Regions from separate parts of the Homo sapiens genome. Here region 1 is linked to region 2. The links are contacts of gene promoters, found by promoter capture Hi-C in blood cells and fetal thymus (Javierre and others, 2016). All regions are on one chromosome and are shown on one strand. The core of a region is centred on a gene start or on the middle of the fragment in contact, and the rest is flanking DNA. Distances in the headings are between cores, read along the strand shown. Region 1 overlaps TNFSF11 (TNF superfamily member 11). Region 2 holds the start of ENOX1 (ecto-NOX disulfide-thiol exchanger 1).

What was found. Contacts are between HindIII fragments. The CHiCAGO score rates a contact against its expected background, and 5 or more counts as called.
Region 1: a contact is called between a fragment that was not itself captured here and the fragment with the promoter of ENOX1 in region 2, in 2 of 17 cell types (naive B cells and total B cells). The highest score is 6.6, in naive B cells.

Annotation. Positions count from the first base shown.
Region 1 is chr13:42,602,048-42,604,747 of GRCh38, forward strand. The region is part of intron 4 of TNFSF11 (TNF superfamily member 11); the gene reads left to right. Among named protein-coding and RNA genes, the nearest start is that of TNFSF11, 29 kb to the left of the region's middle. The HindIII fragment of the contact is 4,763 bases long and covers 1-2,700 here.
Region 2 is chr13:43,785,536-43,788,235 of GRCh38, forward strand. ENOX1 (ecto-NOX disulfide-thiol exchanger 1) reads right to left here and starts at 1,437. Exons shown (of 17, transcript NM_001347969.2): 1 at 1,117-1,437. The HindIII fragment of the contact is 7,995 bases long and covers 1-2,700 here.

The DNA of each region.
Region 1 (2,700 bases), core at 9-2,508, 1.2 Mb before region 2:
GAAAGAATTCAAAGCCCTTATGTTTCTCTTTTCCTGTGAGAAGTAGATTCATGTGACGTCTAATAACAGGGGTGCTAAAATCTGACTGCCTGGGTTTGAGGCTCCATTGTCCTGGCTCTGTGACCTTGTACAATTTATTGCAATCACATATGCTTCAGCTTCATCATGTCTAAAATGGGGATGTTGATAGCATCTGCCTCAAGGGGTAGCTATGAAGATGAAATGAGGTAGACTGCTAACATTCTTGTGTGGAAGAACGGCCATAGTAAGCACTTGGGAGTGTGATTTGTTATTTTTGAGTTCAATTAAATAATTATACATATTCCACCTTTTTCCTACAAATAATTTAAGGCAAGTTTTTCTCGGAGTTAAAGAAAGAAAGTTCAAGTTTTGCTAAGTTATTTGGAAAACTTTGTTACGGCATGGACAAGGGGGAATTTTTCCTGACCGAAGACACAGAAAGGGAGAAACCAATTCTTTGGCTTTTAGAGGATTTTCCAAATGACCTCTCCTGTCCCAGACACTTGCTTCATAAATAATTTGTCTCACTGTGTGTCTATGCATGTCTTGTGGTGGAGCTACACTAATTTTCTCTGAGTGGAAAACTGTTTTGCATGTTAGCAAAGGCAATCAAATAAATATGGATGCATCTGTATTAATTTCTCTGAGTGGAAAACTATTTTGCATGTTAGCAAAGGCAGTCAAATTAATACTAATGCATCAGCTGTGTGTGCTATTAATGTTCCCTACATTTATCTTTTCAGTTCACTTTAAATGGCATATGATAAATATTGCATTAGACCGTTTGCCAAAGTCTGTTTGGCAATAGCAAGCATGTTTTAGTTATAAAACTCTCTCTGCAGGCACCTAGCATCAAATCATTGCCAAAAACACAAGGCAAAACTCCTGGTTATTTTCTGACAGTTATTGAGTTTGTGACTGAGTGAGATGAGTTAGTGTATACTTCTGTTTAAGAAAATAGAATTTGTGGCTCTGGCTGGGCCCACAACTCCTTGAGTCCATTTATTACCCAGTTTTGGCCAGTACTGGAGGTTTCAGAGGAAGTGGCTTTAAATTTGCATGTTCATTTTGGGGCTCTGTTTTATACTTACTTACACAAGTAAAATCAGAATCTGCCTTATATGGACTGATACCACTTGCATTTTCAAAATATCTTAGATGAAATGCGTTGGGAAGTATTTAGTGAGGTCAGAATACATGGCTTTCTTTAGGAGGATACTCAGGCTAAATATTTGCAGAGACCTCTTCTGCGGTACTTAGCAGCAGGGACTGAAGTGTAGGGCAGGGGAGGCTGGGAAAGCTGGCAGGCTGGAGTCAGGGGTTGTCAGTGTGCCTCAGTGATGAAAATCCAGGTTTCCATGTGAGGCCTGCTGTGTGATCACTGCATATTTTTCTCATGTTTTTACCTGGTATTATCTGCTTCTGAGTCCTCTCTTCACACTGACTGGCTCTCCTCCTTTTCCCCCATACGTGCCATGCATATTCCATTCTTTGCTCAGTTTCCTTCACTGACAATACCCTCCCTTTTCTCAGCCCATCCAAGTCTGACCCAAGGCCCCACTGTCCTCTGGCTTCTCTGCCCCTTCCTGAGCTGAGCTCTCCTGCTTGCCATGAATTTCTGTAGCTGTCTCTTGGCAGTTGCTTGTAACTGAATGTCAACCATGTGCTATGCAACATGCAGAAGTGAAAATGCATATTTTATATGCTCATTTTCTATTTTCTCTACTATTAGTGGTGAGTGCCATTAAGGCACAGTTGGTTGATGTAATTCTTAATTACGGGCAGACTGCCTGTTCCTAAAAACACCACGTAGATATTGTGTGACTGATCAAAAGCATGAACCAGTGAATGTATGAGTAAGTCAATGCACAAAAATAGAGAGATGTTTAGTAGGAAATAAGGGCACTTCTTCCACATGACTTACCTAACAATGGGAATGGTAATCGGTCAAGGTTCCTCTCTTCTCCTGCCTCTCTATTTCATATTCTTTCCTTGCCTTCCTAGGCCATATCTTGCTCTAACGCCAGCTGATCCATCCCATTGAGAGGGTAGACTTCTCTTCTGTTAAGAGATAACTATAAGAAAAATCATTGATTGAACAACAAATTGACTGCAAGAGTGGGATAAGAATGAAGGCAGCATGGGATAACTTGAGATGGGAAACATCTTGAATTTCATGGATTTTGTCAATGGATTAGAGGAATTGCTTTTACTAGTGTTCATGAAGGTGTGATGATCATGCTCACTCACTTGGGGCCAGATGATGGTATTTATATCTGGGGTGCTTTAATCTGGGATGACCTGAAATAAGACCTCCGATGAAAAAGAAGGGTGTTTATTGTGGTGAGCCCAGGAGGCAAGAGGGCCTGTGATGACCCCGCTGCAGATAGGTTGTGGAGTTCAGGAAATATCCTGTTTCTGGACAGAGGGATTGGAACCATTGAATTCTTGGTCTTCTCATGATGGGTTGCCCCACCGTTGGATGGCCCTTGCTGCAGTTTTTCTCCCAAGTGGTTGAAAGAACTGCCTGTTTGGTTCCTACAGCCTAGTTTTGAGGCTCCCAGATCATATCCCAGGCTCCCAGTTCTTTAGAGATAAAATTGTAGAACATTCTCTATCTTGTGGGCCTCTAGAGAAGGATGTAGATGTTCAAGGCCCACCAAACCAGACTAGGCTGGG
Region 2 (2,700 bases), core at 187-2,686:
AAAATTGGGATTACAAAGCCAGTTTTTTTCATGTAATGTTACAGCAGTGAAAGATTGAGGGAGAGAAAAGGAGAGAAGCAGGAGTGTATCTGGGTGAAGAAGCGTGGCTCAGTGGCTATACAGTGAGACGCAGAGATTCCACAGAGCTGGGCTTGCCCACCTGTCGACCCCACTTTCCCCATGTGCTCGCCGCGGGATGACAACCACAACACTCCAGAACCACCCCCCTTCCGAAAGAGGGCGGGGTTACGCCTTCAGCCAATCAGGACCCGCGAGCCCCGGGTGTCCAACCTATGGGGTGGCTGTGGCCGTGCAGGGGGAGGACGTGGGGTGGTCTGGGAGGGGCCGCGTCCGTGGGAGGCTCGCACGTGTCGGGTCCGGAGAGGCGGGGAGGCGGCCGGCGTCCAGCGGCCGAGGCGCGGGCTCTGCACCCTGGCAGCGGCCGAGTCCGGCTGCCCCAGTGCCTCCTTTACCTCGCGTTGGGCCAGGCAGGGCGCGCTCCCGCCGACGAAGACCTGTCCAAGGTGTCCGAGCTCCCCGCGAGAGGGGACAGTCACGAATAACAACAGTACCCAGCGCAGACTAGGCGGGGAGGAAAGTTTCCGGCCCGCAGCAGAGCGGAGTCCGCCAAGGCTGGAGGAAAAGGGATGCAGAGCGGGAGGGTGAAAACCTGAAAGAAGAGGGCAGCGGGAACACTGTGTGGGCAGGAACGGGTCCCGGGGGCGACGCCCGCAGGGGGAGACGGGTGCGGGGTGCGCTGTCCAAGGTGCAGGGGAGGTGACTGGCGCGCGGCGGGCGCGGAGCCCGGAGCTGACACTGGCTGGCGGGCGGAGGGGAGAGCGGGGAACAGCTGTCTGGGGCGCTGGGCACCCCCGGGCGCGTAAAAGTGAGGGAGCTTGAGACGGGGCACGGCGGGGAAGGGCGTGGGGGCTGCACCGAAGCCCCCACGCGTCCACGCACCCCTCCTCACCAGCCTCACCTCTAGCTCCACTCCCCTCCCCCCTCGCCCACTCCCCTCTCAGTCTAGATCCAGGTGCCGTGGCGGGGGTGAGACCAGAGGACCCCGGCTCGGAGCCCGGACGCCCCAGGGAGGCTGCGGGCCCCGGAGCTGCTTACCTGGGGCCGCCGTATGGGGAGCGGAGGCAACCCGCTGCGCGGAGTGGGGCGCCGGGCGCGGCGCGGCTCCTCCTAGCCTCGGCGTCCTCCTCCTCCTTTGCTTCTCCCGGACTCTGTCCCGGGCACGGAGCTGGGAGACGCGGCCGGGCTGCAGTCGCCGTTCCCTCTGCTGCCGCCGCCGCTGCAGCAGACAGAGGACGCCCCGTGGCGGCTGGAAGCCTGTGTGAGTAGCGGCGCCCGGGAGAGCGGGGATCTGCTGAGGGGCGCTGGAGACTCCGCGGCTGGAGGCGCGCGGGCGTGCGCACGCGCGCCTGCGAGTGTGAGTGTATGGGTGCGCGCGCGCCCACGGGGTGGGGGAGTCGCGAGGGGAGGGGGAGAGAGGCCGAGAGATGCTCGTAGGGACCGAGGCAAAATTCTACGACCCCGGAAATCCGTAAACGCGGGGAAGGAGGATCGAACGCGTGTCTCGCTTGGAGAAGCTGCCCACGGGGCGGCAGCAGAGGAGGAGGGGAAGTCAGCGAGGCGCGCTAGGGCTCCGGATCCCAGCCCGGCAGAGCCGAGCGGAGCGCGCAGCCACCGATGCAGCAGAGGCGGCGCCCGCAGCCCACGGTCGCGCTGCCCCCTCTCGGGAGGGGCCGAGGCCGCTCGCTCCCGCCACCGCCGCCGCGGTCGGGACTGCTCTACTGGGAGCGGGGGAACCGAGAGAGGGACCGCACGGTTGCTACGGCGACCTTGGAGGGGCCGGGCCCGCTGAAGGGCCAAGAGAAGAACCCGGGCGCACGTGGCCGACTCCAGGCTGGAGCGGGCGTGTTACAGGATTGTGGGCTTGGGGTAGACGGTGGAATTGGGCCGCGTGGCCTGGGCAGATGATGCGGGGTGTGCGGCCCAGAGTGGCTCGGCCGGGGTGCGGTCAGCATTCAGGTTGGTAAGGGTGAGGGGATCCTAACCCCAGGTGACATGTTGCCTTTTTTTCCTCCTTGGAGGCTACTTTTTCTCAAAGTTACCCACTTCCCAGGTAAGAATGCCGGCCTCCTCTTTGTTAGGATTCAACTTAGCTGTGCAGGCATCTAAGCAGTGCCTCCTTAGAGTCAGGCTCGTCCAAGAACCGCTCCCACCACCTCCCCACACACACCCACATCCCCCGATCCTCCATCCCAACTACATTGTAATACTTCAGAAATAAATGTTTAAAGCACATTTACATTCTCTGCCTCTTAACAGATATATTGTCTTAGTAGTATACTTTTCCTTGCTTATTTTAAATTCTGAGTGGGATTTTATTCACACAAGCATTTCTTCAAGGGTCGTAAGGTCTGGGTAATACTTGAAATACCCTTTCTGGCAGGAATCCTCAATGCAGGGATTGTGTTTTGCACACTTTTGCATGCCTTCCAGTGCTTAGCATAGTACTCTGTACTTTGTGAGTTCCCTGTAAATGTTGAATGAATGACATTGTTTTCTAGCTTCACGTAACCTGAAGGCAAAGACTTGGATGCTGGGAAAGTCATTACCACCCCACTAGGCTTGCCTGATTTTAACTTATGCCATTTCCTTGTGTGTGGCTATTTTTCCCCCTGGCGGTCA